Linked DNA regions of Homo sapiens: regions 2, 3, 4 and 5 are each linked to region 1. Evidence: promoter capture Hi-C in human tissues and cell types (Jung and others, 2019). All regions are on one chromosome and are shown on one strand. Each heading gives the region's core, a stretch centred on a gene start or on the middle of the fragment in contact. The rest is flanking DNA. Distances are from core to core; before and after follow the strand shown.

Region 1 (2,700 bases), core at 119-2,618:
GGGCTCCTGGGGAGGGGAGTGCCCGGGTTGGGGGTGGGGAGAGAACTGTACTCAACAGAAACAACAACGATGACAACGACAACGACAAAGACAAGACTACAGGACCTGCTCCCAGAACCCTGGGATGGGCCAGCCCCGGGCCTGCGGAATCCCACTGAATCCCATAACCACGGTGTTACACCAGATTTACAGAAGGGGAGGGCGGGGCTCTGAGAGAAGTGACTTGTCCAAGGTCACATGCTGCACAGGTGCAATATTAACCACTTTGACACCAATAATGAGCTTGCCTTTGGTGAGCACACATATGCAGAGTCCCACAGAATCCTCGCATCTGTCCTGGGAGGCAGGAATACTGATCCCATTTTTCAGACTGAGAAACTGAGGCCCAGTGAGATGAAGGCCCCTCCCCCAAGGTCACAGGAGGGCACATTCCCACCCACACCTGACCCTAGGTCTTCCCATGATGTTGAGTTGCCTGTTACTCTCTGCCCCTAAACGGATAGGACTTCTTCCAATCTCAGCATCGTGGGCCTGGACAGCTTCCCAGCCAGACCCCAGCCCTCTCTCCATCCCCCAGGCCCAGGGACCAAGGAAACAGACCTCCCGTGGAGCAGAAAAGAAACAACTCCTGGCTTCCGGCCTGACTATCCAAACGTGTGAAATGGCCATGAGGGACTCATGGCACCAGCCGCCCATTGCACAGGTGCGGAGACTGAGGCTCGGAGAAGGGGTTGTGGTGGACGCATGAGTCCCTGGGCCTGGGACCCAGGTCGCTAAATGCCCCGCCAGGCGCCAGTCACTGCTGGACAAGGGCAGGGAGGTAGCACCCAGCCGGTGCCTCCTCCCCTCCTCAGCCAGGCAGGCGCCAGGGGAGCAGGGTAACCCAACCAGCCCAAAGGGTGGGCACCGGTGCCTCGCCCCAGGCAGCAGGGCCAAGGCCCGGCTCGGGCCGCACGGGCTCTTTCCCTCTTCCGGTCAGCAAGGGCTCAGGGGGGCAGAGGTGTGCCGCGGCGGGGACGAGGGCAGCAGCCCGGGAGGGCTTTCCCGCGTCCCCAGGCGTCTGCCGCAGGGTGCTCCCCGCCCGCCGCACATCCGGGCCCCCGGCGCACGGCGCGACGCCAGGCCTCACCTGCACCGCCCGGGTGAAGAAGATGCCCGCGTCCGACGCCAGCTTCTTCATGTTGAAGTCCATGGCGTGCCCGCACGGCCGCCGCGCACGGCCCGAGCGCAGCCGGCAGCCCCCGGCCCAGCCGCCGCCGCCAACCGCACCCCGCCCACCTGCTGCGGGGCACCAGCCCTCCGCGCACCCGCCTGCCGGCCTGCCCGCCTGCCCGCCCGCCGCAGCCGCCGAGCCAGCCCGAGCGCGCAGGGCGGGGCGCGGAGGCCGCGGGTCGGAGCCAGAGGGGCGGGGGCGGAGCTGGCGGTGCCGGGGCGGGACGGGACGGCAGTGGGGCGGAGCTAGAGGGGCGGGGGCCGGGCTGGTTGGCGGAAGCCGGGCGGAGTCGGAGGGGGCGGGACTGGCGGGACAGGGGCGGAGCGAGAGGGCAGTGGGGCGGAGCTACATGGGTGGGGGCGAGGCCTTGGCGCGGCCAGAGCGGGGGTTGGTCTGGGGAGCAGGTTGTGCTGGGCAGGGCTCGCTGCTGGGCAGTGCTCGCTGCTGCCCCCATGCGCCTGCCGCCGCGGATTGGGCCGGCCTCTTTTTTTCCTTTTACTAAAATTATTAAAACTGGAACACATGTGCTCTTAGATGATTGCAGGTACACGCCATAATTACATATTATTTGCCATCTTACCAATGCTTTTCAAAAGTTTTAATTGATAAATATATATTTACGGCCTACAAGGTGATGAAATTGTGGAATGATGAAATCAAGTTAATTGACATATCCATCACCTCACCTACTTTTTTTGTGGTTAGAACATTTCAAATGTACTCTTTTAGCAATTTTGAAATATGCAATACTTTTTTTTTTTTTTTGTAGACAGAGTCTTGCTCTGTCGCCCAGGCTGGAGTGCAGTGGCGCGATCTCGGCTCACTGCAGCCTCCACCTGCCGGGCTCAAGCGATTCTCCTGCTTCATTCAGCCTCCCGAGTAGCTGGGACTACAGGCGCCCACCAACATGCCCCGCTAATTTTTTGTACTTTAGGAGAGACAAGGTTTTGCCATGTTGCCCAGGGTGGTCTTGAACTCCTGATCTCAGGCAATCTGCCTGCCTCAGTCTCCCAAAGTCACTAAGTGACTGAGTAGTCACCAATATGTGCAACAGATCTCTAAAATGGGCCTCTCTTGCTTTCTCCTCCCACCACCCAGGCCTGCTGCCTCTCCCCTGTTTGTGCCTCTTCATCTCCGCTCTTTATTCACACCCCCTCCCTCCCATTCCCATTTCTTCCACTCTGTTTCCCTTGGGTTTCCTCCCGTTACTCCTCCTCTCTGACCTCTCCTCCTCTCTTCTGCCCTGACCTTGGTGACTGAGCCGGAGTCAGGCTTGGGACTTGCCCTCCACCGCTGGAACAGCTGTTTGTCAGCCTGGGAGGCCCTGTGGCTTCCCCAAATTGGAGGAGGGTTGGGGTGGCGGTCACGGGAAGGGAGGGGGTTCTGGAGCTGGGGCCTGGAGCCCCCTGTGTGGTGAGAGGAGGAGATCAAAGGTTGGGTGACTGTCAGGGTGGAGAGAATGAGCTGCCCTGGGAGCACAGATGTGT
Region 2 (2,847 bases), core at 223-2,722, 420 kb before region 1:
GGTTGCACCACATTGCCCAAACTGATCTTGAATTCCTGAGCTCAAGCGATCCTCCTGCCTCAGCCTCCCAAAGTGCTGGGATTACAGGCATGAGCCACCACGCCTGGCCAACAAAAGCTTTTTCATTTGAAGCTATCAAAGACTTAATTGTAGCTAGAACTTGTTATTCTGGAGGGTGAAAAGATCTTAATTATAAGCCTACTGACTTTTCCTCTGAGAAATTCGGACTTTTAAAAAAATAACAAGAAGTTTTTTAACACTTTGCCCAAAGACCTAGCCTCATTCAGTAGATCAGATTAACCCAAGATAACTTTCTGAGGCAAGAATTATGTCATTCTCTGTTTTCCTGGGCAGAAGATCTCCTTACCAGGTAATATAATAGCTATTTTTCTGGGGTGCTGGTTTCCAGGGACCTCATGTCTTGGATCAATGGAATACGGGGGTTGGTGTCCTCAGATGAGCTAGCCAAGGATGTCACCGGAGCTGAGGCATTGCTGGAGCGACACCAGGTGGGTGGACCTGCCTGCTGAGTAGCAAAGACGTGGCTGCTCTGCAGGGCCCTAGAGGCCTCATTCCCACCCTTTGTGGTGAGTCGGTGGTTGACGTCAGAGTGGGCATCTGCTGCCAGTTACCTAATCCCTTCCCTCCTTTTGGCAGGAACACCGGACAGAAATCGATGCCAGGGCTGGCACTTTCCAGGCATTTGAGCAGTTTGGACAGCAGCTGTTGGCTCACGGACACTATGCCAGCCCTGAGATCAAGCAGAAACTTGATATTCTTGACCAGGAGCGTGCAGACCTGGAGAAGGCCTGGGTTCAGCGCAGGATGATGCTGGATCAGTGCCTTGAACTGCAGGTGTGTGTGCTCCTGGTTTCTGACCAAGTGTTTCCTTGCTGAAGGGCCTCATTTTCTCACCTGCCTCTTGCCCTCTTTAGCTGTTCCATCGGGACTGTGAGCAAGCTGAGAACTGGATGGCTGCCCGGGAGGCCTTCTTGAATACCGAAGACAAAGGAGACTCACTGGACAGCGTAGAGGCTCTGATCAAAAAACATGAAGACTTTGACAAAGCGATTAACGTCCAGGTGAGGCCTCTGGACCATGGAGTTGGAGTCTGGATTTTTCCTGATTGACATCTGTTTCTTGGCTTATATAGTCACTGTTATATCTCCAAGGAATACCTGCGTTGTCTAAGAAAAATATGTACATAAATAATCTTTAAAACTTTATAGATTCTGGTATTTCTGAGATTTTAATAATGGGGGTGCCACAGGAAAAAAAAATATTATCAAAGGGATGGAAAACAAATGTGTGGGTAGGTAAGGGAATAATGAACAAACAACAAGGAAGATGTAAAACTGTTTGATTTATACGTCACTTTGCTGTAAATCTGACAGCATTTTCCTATTATCAGGCTTAATTTTGTTCTGTTCTGATATTCTAACACCTGCCCCACCTGAGTGACCTGGAGACTTCTTGAGTTAAACTCTACTCTAGTAATGAATGAAATCAAGCTTTCTTTTGGCATTTTACACTCTTGCTTCTAAAGTGTCAGTGTATTCTGATCCTGCCACCAGCTAGTTCTCAGTCACCCAAAATAACTATCCTTTTCTCAAGACTGGCAGTCCAGGCAGGGCCCAGCCACAGGCCCACCTTGATCTCATGCCTTTGTTTTCTGACAGGAAGAGAAGATTGCTGCTCTGCAGGCCTTTGCCGACCAGCTCATCGCTGCCGGCCATTATGCCAAGGGAGACATTTCTAGCCGGCGCAATGAGGTCTTGGACAGGTGGGTGTCCTGTGGCACTGACATAGTCACCAGCCCTGAGAGGATGCATCCCCTCATACGAAGGCCCAGGCCTGTTCTGTCTCCCCACTTCCTTCTCCACGGTAAGATATGCTCATGTTGGATCTCATGGTTTCACTCTTTCAGGTGGCGACGTCTGAAAGCCCAGATGATTGAGAAAAGGTCAAAGCTAGGAGAATCTCAAACCCTCCAACAGTTCAGCCGGGATGTGGATGAGATTGAGGCTTGGATCAGTGAAAAATTGCAAACAGCGAGTGATGAGTCGTACAAGGATCCCACCAACATCCAGGTAAGCTGAAGTGACTGGGTGTTGGTCTTGATGTAGCCTTATGTTATTGAGTAGATTTTGTTAAATAAAGCATTTATAAAACAATCTCCTTGCACCCATGGGAAGTCAGTGAGAAATATTTCAGTAAGCCCAGCCAGTGGGAAAGCCCTAGTCAAGTTTCAGAGCCATTTAAAAGTTGCCTTCCTCATTTGTCTCCATTAAAACTATTTCTGCTGTAATAAAAGTCTATAGAATCCCCCTTCTATTACTGTTCCCAAATGCTGAGCTTCCTGGGGGAAGTATGACAAAATGAGTTTCTATTTAATAGCTGATATGTGTGTCCACATCAGTGTACTGAACTCTTGTTCTTTTAATCTGTTTTTGTAGCTTTCCAAGCTGCTGGTAAGTTTTTAATTTTTTTAAGAGTTGTAGTTAAATGAGCTCCAGTATTTGTGTTACTCTGCGTAGATTATTGTTATTATTGTGGTCACACGGTTTGCTGGTGTCTCTTCATCCATCCTTTTCATTTCTAATCATCCATTACACTCCATTCAAGTGTCCCTGTGGGATGTGGCTTTTTCTGTTGTAATTAGCCTGCAACGCCTTACTCCCCCTTCTCTCCCCCAGTTTATCACTTAGGCAAATTCTGTACAGTGTTTGATTTGCGGGGCAGTAATTGACCATTTTCTTTCAAGGAGTGCTTCCTTTTGAAGATGGAACATCAGCTTCAGCTTTTTCTGTGTAGACATTGGCTCAGACTTGCTATGAGCTCATGGTG
Region 3 (2,700 bases), core at 88-2,587, 330 kb before region 1:
TGTTGGCCAGGCTGGTCTTGAACTCCTGACCTTAAGTGATCTGCCCTCCTCAGCCTCCCAAAGTGCTGGGATTACAGGCATGAGCCACCATGCCCAGCCAACCCCCATGTCAAAGAACCTACTATGTGCCAGGTGCTTCTGCTAATGTCTAGACCTCAACAACTCTAATGTGTAAATGTCACATTTCGCCTCTGATTATGAAATCTGGGCATGTTTCACAGAGCCAAGTTGCCTTTGCTTATATGTCAATGCCACTTGGGTGATTTCCCATAGCAGGACAACCCAGTGTTGTCCATGGCTCACCAATTTCACTTTTTTCCAGTCCATTATGAAGGAAGTGATTAGTGCAAAGCACAACATGTGGCTTCCTTCATTCAGTAAGAGCACCAGAGCCTGTCTGTTCCAAGTCACTGTCGGTATTTGACCCTTCATCACCTTCCCACCTCCTGGAGGACGCTCCTCCACGAAGTGCTGACACAACCTCCTGTAAACGCAGGATGCCAGGACGGGCTGAATGGCCCGCCATAGACTAGGCAGTGACCAGCACACCTCCCTTGGGCTGAAATAGTGGCGGCTATTTCACCAGGTGTAAATGGCTTTTCTCCCGTGTGGATGGATGGGCTTTTTAGGGTAAAGCCCTAAAAAGTGGCACGGGCTGAACCAGCAAGCTCAGTCTGAGTAAGAGATGGGCCGGAGAGAGGTCTGGTTCATTCATCTGTAATTTGTAATTTATCATAATTTTGGGTGAGGATTTACTTTTCCACAAGTATACGTTCTTTTTTTTTTTTTTTTTTTTTTTTTGAGATGGAGTCTCGCTCTGTCACCCAGGTTGGAGGGCAGTGGCAGGATCTCGGCTCACTGCAACCTCCGCCTACTGGGTACAAGTGATTCTCCCACCTCAGCCTCCTGAGTAGCTGGGATTACAGGCGCCCGCCACCACGACCGGCTAATTTTTGTATTTTTAGTAGAGACGGGGGTTTCACCATGTTGGCCAGGCTGGTCTCGAACTCCTGACCTCGTGATCCGTCCACCTCTGCCTCCCAAACTGCTGGGATTACAGGCGTGAGCCACCGCACCTGGCCTAGTATACATTCTTGTAGTGACTAATATCTAGTCTGGGCCAACCACTCCGAGGAGAGAGACAATTTTGGATTAGCCCACATTACACCAACAACGTGCGAGACAAAGAGAGACTTGAGGGGCTTGGTCGAGGAGGCCCAGCGCGTTAGAGGCGGGAGCCAGGTTGTAGAGGGGCTCAAAGTTAGAGGAGGCGGCCAGCTCCACCGGCTGCACCCGGCTGGGCGACCCGGCAACCTTCAGGGGGCGCTGTTTCCCCCATCCCTGTCCCTAACTGGCCGGCTCCCGCGGGCGCGCGGCGGGGAAGGCCAGAGGACCTGGGCGCGGGCGATGTGCCTCCTGAGCGTCCAAACCGGGGGTGAGGCGCGGTCACGCCCAGCGGGAACCGCAGGCGCCGAAGCCCGGGTACTGGGCCCAGAATCCCGCGGAATTTTGGATCCGAGGGAGGCGCTGGGGCGCGGGACCTCGGGCGTGGGGTCCCGGGCGCTGGATCGGCGCGGACGGGAGGCGGCGCTGGTCCCGCGGGCCAGCGGGTCTCGGGAGGGGGCGCCCGATCCCGCGTCTCCGGCGCCGCTTCCCGGGAAGTTTCAAGTTTGAAAGTCCTGGCGGAGGGTCTGCGGCTTCCGGGACCGGAGTGGCTGAGAGAAGGGCCCCAAGCGGCCGGAGCGGCGCCATGGAGGAGGGGGCGCCGCGGCAGGTGAACGGCGTGGGAGGGGCGCGCGGGCCCGGGGGGTGCGAGAAAGCCTCTGTCATCGCCCCGGAGCCCCGAACCGCGGCCGCTTCCCCCGATCCTCCCCTCACCCGCGCCCCTTCCCTGCCCCTGCCCTGGCCCCGGCCCCGCGACGCCCTCGCAGAGCAGACCTGATCTCCGGGTTCGGTGGTTCCTGGACCTTGCACAGTCTCCAAATCAGTCCGCGGCTGACCCGGAGACTGAACCCCAACCAGCCCGTGAGCGAGGACGGCTGAGTCCGCAGTGTGCGCCACCAGGGTGGTCCCCAGAGTGTCCTTAAGTCGGTTCTCCTCGGTGGGGCTCCAAGGCCGACGGGAATTAGCCGGGATAGAAAGGCGGGGCACAGGGGCCTGGGGGGGTTAGAATGTGCGCGCAGCGGGGGGCGCAGTCTGTGCGCGCTTGGCAGTGGCAGGAGTCCTTCCCGGAGCACAGGAGGCACGAGGGGAGCGTAGATGAGAGGGGAGCGGCCTCCCCCGCCCCAGGGCGGGAACCTTTGGGTACATAGCGGGTTCTAGAATGCGGAGGGGGCTGGGTTTCCTGCCAGAGCTGGCAGTAGGTGCGCGTGGGCCCGGAGGACCGAGGCCATGTCTATCTGCTCCTGAGGAGGGAGAGGTGGTGTCCTGTTCCGGAGCGAGTGGTTGGGAGGGGGGCATTTGCGGACAGGAGTGGGTCCCCGCAAAGAGCGGAAAGGAGGTGGTGTGTGTGTCCATGTTGGAGTTCCAACCCAGGGCAGACGGGACCATGGGGGTGTTGCGGGGTGCGTGTAGACTCCTTGAGCGCCCAAGCCAGTCGTTTAGGCCGCCTTCAGGGCTGGGGCTCGGTCTGCCCCCTCCCACCCCCTTCCTCTGGAGGTCCCTCCGCCTGTTCCAGACGTAGCTTGTACACATTTTCCG
Region 4 (2,700 bases), core at 70-2,569, 260 kb before region 1:
CTTCTCTATTTTTCTCCAAACCACTTATTACCTCCTTACATATCATGTTTATTATTTGCTGAATGAACAAATGAACCAAAGTAGCGAGGCCCTTCACCCCTGGCCACCACTTTCTGCTCTAAGTATAGCCTCCCGTGACCCTTTTCAAGGCTATGCTTTTATGCTCATCCTAACCAGTTTGAAGTCTGAAGAGAAACATTCTGTGAAAGATCATATATGGAAGGATTTTCCCAAGACATCAGACATTCCATTCCCCTCCCCCTTAAAAATCAAATGCACTAGCTGAGCGCGGTGGCTCATGCCTGTATTTCCAGCACTTTTGGAGGCTGGAGCGGGCGGATCACTTGAGCCCAGGAGTTCGAGACCAGCTTGGGTAACATAGTGAGACCCCATCTCTATTTAAAGAAAAACAAAACAAAACAAAACGAATGGACTGACAAACACAGGCAAAGACTGGAAATCTTGGGCTCTTTCGGTCAAAGAGCAGCCAAGACAAGTTCCACCCAGAGAGCTATAGTGGCCAGCACAGTCAGTTTCACTATCAACTCACCTGTCGGGCTCCCTTGGCCCTCCGGTTGCAACCTCACCCTGTTGGATTTCCCTATACTTTGTGTCATCCCTTTTGGGAGCTGATCCAGAATCCAAGTCGTCCTTGAGCTTCTAAGCACTTCTCTGGGGGAACTTAAGCTCATCCAACAGGTAGGAGGGGCAGAGGGTGGCCCTTTCAGCCCTACACCGATCCCCCATCTTGTAGGGGCAAACGACAGAGCGTCATTTTCTTTCTGGAGGAAGGGAGCTCAGTTTTAAAGACACGATTCTCAGACCTGGCGGCAGGGATAGAGAAAGGAACCCTCCCACCACTGGCGGAGATGGACCTCAGAGAGTGGTTGCAGCGGCGATGCTTAGGCCCCGTAGGCAGGAGGCGAAGGAGGAGGACGCAGGTACGTCCCTTGGCCCGGGGTCCGGGACCTACCCTGGACGGGGCTGCCCTCAGCGTCGGGAAGCGGACGTGATGCTTCGCAGGCGAGGAGGAGCAGAGAATGCAGCCCGGGAGAATCCGGGGCCAGAGCACCTCAGGAGGTTGGGGATCTCGTCAGGCTAGAGCCGGGGTCCAGGGGAGACGGGGGTCGGCGGGGCGGAGCTTGGGATCCCGGGGACGGGAGCTCCGGGAGGGAGGGGGTCGCGACGGGGACCCCGTGGCGGTTACCTTGCCCTTAGGGCTGCCGGCGGGGCTGAGGCTCCTGGGCCCGGCCCCTCCCCCGATCCGGCTCCTACGGCTCGGAGCCTGCAGCCGCCGCCGCCTCCGCTGTCAACAAACCCGGGGCGCGTCACTTCCGGGGCCGCCCCTTAGCAACAGCGATCGGGTTCCCCCGACCCGTCCCGCGGCTAACGCGGGCGGCGGCGGCAGAAGGTTCCGGGGACCGGCGGGCGGCTCCTTTCCCCGGGCCCGGCACGTTACGCCGGTGGAGGAAGCCGCGGGATGCCCCCCCCAGGCCACCCGAGAGAACGCGTCATTCAGGGCTCTCCCTGGCCTCCGAGGGGCCTGTTCGTGGGACCCTAGGATCGGTGCCCGCCCTGGCGCTGCGGTTCACCTGAGCCCAACACTGCTGAATAGCAGGACTGACTCTGGGCGCCAGCCCCCTCCATCCAGCGCCCTGTTGAACATGTCTTGCGTTCTCCACGGGTGGCTCACACTCGCGTGTCAACCCGCAGTCATCACCGTCCCCCAAAAGGTGCTCCTAACCTCCATCTAGGGCATGCGCCACCAGGCAACCGAGCTTCCAAATGGGAAATTGGGCGGCGACCTCGGCCCCTACATTTTCCTGGGCCCCTCGTCCAGTCTCCAAGTCCTAAGGATCCTGTCAAACCAGTTCCTTCTGGCCGAGCGCAGTGGCTCACGCCTGTAATCCCAGCACTTTGGGAGGCCGAGGCACGCGGATCACCTGAGGTCAAGAGTTCGAGACCAGCCTGGCCAACATGGTGAAACGCCGTCTTTACTAAAAATACAAAAATTAGCCGAGCGTGGTGGTGCGCGCCTCTAATCCCAGCTACTCAGGAGACTGAAGCAGGAGAATCGTTTGAACCCAGGAGGCAGAGCTTGCAGTAAGCTGAGATCGCACCACTGCACTCCAGCCTGGGCGACAGAGGAAGACTCCATCTCAAAACACCATCATTTCTTCTCTGGATTTCTCTTTTTTTTTTTTTTTTTTGAGAGACGGAGTTTCTCTCTCTTGTTGCCCAGGCTGGCGGGCAATGGCCCTCAGCTCACTGCAGACTCCCCGGGTTCAAGCAATTCTCCTGCCTCAGCCTCCAAGTAGCTGGGATTACAGGCGCCTACTATCACGTCTGGCTAATTTTTGTATTTTTAGTAGAGATGGGGTTTCGCCATGTTGGGCAGGCTGGTCTCAAACTCTTGACCTCAGGTGATGCGCCCACCTCAGCCTCCCAAAGTGCTGGGATTACAGGCGTGAGCTACCACACCCTAGCTAGATGCTCCTTTCTTGAGGAACCCTTTCTTGACAGGTGCCTCAGTTCCATTCCAAGAACTAATTTTGTGGATTTCTTTTTTCTTGCATAGCACCTTTTAATCTTTGACCAGCTACAACTATGTTCGTACAGTCTTGAATCCTTAAAAAAGCTGTTGGGCTTGGCACAGTGACTCACAACCTATAATCTCAGCAGATGGGGTTGTCGAGGCTG
Region 5 (2,700 bases), core at 1-2,500, 400 kb before region 1:
GGAGGAGGCTGCCGCAGTGATCTGCGGTCTGAAGGAGAGCAGGAAAGGGGGCATGTGTGACTGAGTCTCAGCAGTGTCCAGGTGGACAGTTTGGCTTGGGCATCTGGGGGACATGCTGGTGCCATCTGAGCCTAGGAAGAGCAAGTTCCAGTCCTGTGGAGTCACCACAAATTGGCTTGTCACTCCTTGTTCAGGAAACTTTTGACGCTGGGCTGCAGGCCTTCCAGCAGGAAGGCATTGCCAACATCACTGCCCTCAAAGATCAGCTTCTCGCCGCCAAACACGTTCAGTCCAAGGCCATCGAGGCCCGGCACGCCTCCCTCATGAAGAGGTGGAGCCAGCTTCTGGCCAACTCAGCCGCCCGCAAGAAGAAGCTTCTGGAGGCTCAGAGTCACTTCCGCAAGGTGAGGATGGGGCCACGTGAAGCTTAGCTGGCCCACAGCTCAAGGAAGGACGCCCACCTTCTGTCTGCCCAGCTCTGCCACTCCCCCTTGAGGAAGCTGTGAGCTCAGTGCAGAGCTTTCAAACATGGGTGTGGCTGGCATCAATTAAAACCAGGGCAAATGAGAGGGCCCTGTGAGATCGCCATTCAGAAGCACGCAGGACAGACTAGAGACAAGGGCAAAGGGTAGGAAGGGGAAAAAAGGCTGGTGAAGACTTGAAGGGGGAGCAGGAGACAGGAGCAGAGGGGAGCTAAGCTCCCAGCAGGCTGTGTGCGCCTCTGATTCCCAGGAACCACCCCGCACCCCACCTCCTGCACTGCGTCGGCACGTCCAGCCCTGGCGACTCCGCCAACTCAGTCTCTTCTGCTTCCAGGTGGAGGACCTCTTCCTGACCTTCGCCAAAAAGGCTTCTGCCTTCAACAGCTGGTTTGAAAATGCAGAGGAGGACTTAACAGACCCCGTGCGCTGCAACTCCTTGGAAGAAATCAAAGCTTTGCGCGAGGCCCACGACGCCTTCCGCTCCTCCCTCAGCTCTGCCCAGGCTGACTTCAACCAGCTGGCCGAGCTGGACCGCCAGATCAAGAGCTTCCGCGTAGCCTCCAACCCCTACACCTGGTTTACCATGGAGGCCCTGGAGGAGACCTGGAGGAACCTACAGAAAATCATCAAGGTACACCTCCCGCTGCCCTCAGGAGCTGCTCGGCCTCCCAGAGCCCTCTCTGGGCCCTGCTCAGAGCCCACACTTAACTGAGTCACGACAAGACGAGCAGGATGGAGGAGCATGGTTTCATCAGAAGTTTCATTTCTTTTTGTGTTCTTGAGGCAGGGTCTCTGTCACCCAGGCTTCAGTGCAGTGGTGCTACCATGGCTCCCTGTAGCCTCAACCTCCCAGGCTCAGGTGATCCTCTTGCCTGAGCCTCTTGAATAACTGGGACTACAAGCACGTGCCACCACGCCTGGCTAATTATTTTAATTTTTGTAGACAGGGTGTTGCTATGTTGCCCAGGCTGGTCTTCAACTCCTGGCCTCAAGCAGTCCTCCTGCCCAGGCCTCCCAAAGTGCTGGGATTACAGGTGTGAGCCACTGTACCCAGCCAGAAGTTTCCATTTCTGACAGTCCAGCAACTCCCTGCTTGACTGACCAGTCGCTTCCCTCCAGGTCCGCCTCTTCCTTGAAGCCCCTGGGGGGTGGGAACAGAGAAAGAACTACCAAGTGCTCTGAGCCGGCCTCATGTCTCCCAGCCTCCTCCTCTCATCTTTGGGGAGGTTCCTTGTGGGGAGGCCACCACCACCCTGAGCCCATCTGTGAAGGAGGGGCTGGTGTCACTGCCACAGCAGCGCACAGCATCTGCCCCCCTTTGGCCCTCAGGAGAGGGAGCTGGAGCTGCAGAAGGAACAGCGGCGGCAGGAGGAGAACGACAAGCTGCGCCAGGAGTTTGCCCAGCACGCCAACGCCTTCCACCAGTGGATCCAAGAGACCAGGTGCCAGCCCGCTGGGGCCGGGGAGCAGCAGCATGTCCCTGCTGTACTTAAGCCCTGGGGAGCTTCCAGCCCCAAGGAGGTGGTGGTGCTTTGTGTAAAACCAGAGGCAGCCTGGGAATAAAGCTGGGCTGGCAACGCCTGGTCGGGCTCTGGAGCCGGGAGTGGGGGCATAGGTGGAGCAGCCTCTCAGTGCTGCATGTCCCAGACATCAAGTTGTTAGAGATCCCGGATTGAGTGGGACCATGCAGGGCGCGTGGTCAGCCCCAGCCATGACTTGGTGACAGACGATGCAGGGTCTGTGCGTTGGGTACTGATGTTCTTGCTTTTGTTTTCCTTTCTTTCTTGTGTCTTCTCTCTGTCCCCCCGATTGCTGCTGTTGTCCGGACACCACCTTGTCTCCCGGCTGCTTGGATCTGCTCTCCACAGGACATACCTCCTCGATGGGTTAATATTGTTTTCTTCCTTCTCTGGGCTTGTCATGTGGGGGTCTCGTGCGCTTGCCCCTCGTGGCCTGGCTTGTGGAGGATCCCGGGATGGGCCTTCCTGCCCAGGGCGGGCTGCACTTCCCCTCCCACCCTTCTCGTCACCTGATGAGGAGTGTGTGCCTTGCCCCATAGCCCATGGTCCCTGGTCCCCGATAGAGCCTTCAAGCCAGGGGGAGCCGTCCTTGCCTCACTGGGCGATTCCAAGGGCTCACTTTGGGTAGGGAAGGTGATGAAGCACGAAGGCCAGAGCTGGAGTCCAGAGGCCCTAAGAACCCCCGTGCCTGTCCAGCC

What was found. Contacts are between HindIII fragments. The study calls those that stand out against the background at their distance.
Region 2: a contact is called between a fragment that was not itself captured here and the fragment with the promoter of SH3GLB2 in region 1, in 1 of the 25 tissues and cell types used here (dorsolateral prefrontal cortex).
Region 3: a contact is called between the fragment with the promoter of PKN3 here and the fragment with the promoter of SH3GLB2 in region 1, in 2 of the 25 tissues and cell types used here (dorsolateral prefrontal cortex and stomach).
Region 4: the fragment with the promoter of ZER1 here is called in contact with the fragment with the promoter of SH3GLB2 in region 1 in 1 of the 25 tissues and cell types used here (dorsolateral prefrontal cortex).
Region 5: a fragment that was not itself captured here is called in contact with the fragment with the promoter of SH3GLB2 in region 1 in 1 of the 25 tissues and cell types used here (lymphoblastoid cells).

What each region holds. Positions count from the first base shown.
Region 1 is chr9:129,026,963-129,029,662 of GRCh38, forward strand. SH3GLB2 (SH3 domain containing GRB2 like, endophilin B2) reads right to left here and starts at 1,369. Exons shown (of 11, transcript NM_020145.4): 1 at 1,130-1,369. The coding sequence starts at 1,192. RefSeq lists enhancers at 1-357, 358-921, 1,606-2,345, 2,346-2,700 and silencers at 752-1,261, 1,302-1,731. The HindIII fragment of the contact is 26,388 bases long and covers 1-2,700 here.
Region 2 is chr9:128,607,195-128,610,041 of GRCh38, forward strand. It overlaps SPTAN1 (spectrin alpha, non-erythrocytic 1), which reads left to right. Exons shown (of 57, transcript NM_001130438.3): 32 at 410-509; 33 at 658-855; 34 at 936-1,082; 35 at 1,680-1,783; 36 at 1,928-2,090; 37 at 2,457-2,471. Among named protein-coding and RNA genes, the nearest start is that of DYNC2I2, 48 kb to the right of the region's middle. The HindIII fragment of the contact is 5,536 bases long and covers 1-2,847 here.
Region 3 is chr9:128,701,166-128,703,865 of GRCh38, forward strand. It overlaps PKN3 (protein kinase N3), which reads left to right and starts at 1,338. Exons shown (of 22, transcript NM_013355.5): 1 at 1,338-1,774. The coding sequence starts at 1,751. RefSeq lists a silencer at 1,231-1,800 and an enhancer at 1,615-2,154. The HindIII fragment of the contact is 13,608 bases long and covers 1-2,700 here.
Region 4 is chr9:128,770,608-128,773,307 of GRCh38, forward strand. ZER1 (zyg-11 related cell cycle regulator) reads right to left here and starts at 1,320. Exons shown (of 16, transcript NM_006336.4): 1 at 974-1,320. It overlaps LOC124902282 (a long non-coding RNA gene), which reads left to right and starts at 727. Exons shown (of 2, transcript XR_007061804.1): 1 at 727-941. RefSeq lists enhancers at 907-956, 1,685-2,411 and a silencer at 1,147-1,616. The HindIII fragment of the contact is 13,726 bases long and covers 1-2,700 here.
Region 5 is chr9:128,625,575-128,628,274 of GRCh38, forward strand. It overlaps SPTAN1 (spectrin alpha, non-erythrocytic 1), which reads left to right. Exons shown (of 57, transcript NM_001130438.3): 48 at 195-404; 49 at 817-1,113; 50 at 1,812-1,924; 51 at 2,351-2,368. Among named protein-coding and RNA genes, the nearest start is that of DYNC2I2, 30 kb to the right of the region's middle. RefSeq lists an enhancer at 1,448-2,093. The HindIII fragment of the contact is 6,522 bases long and covers 1-2,700 here.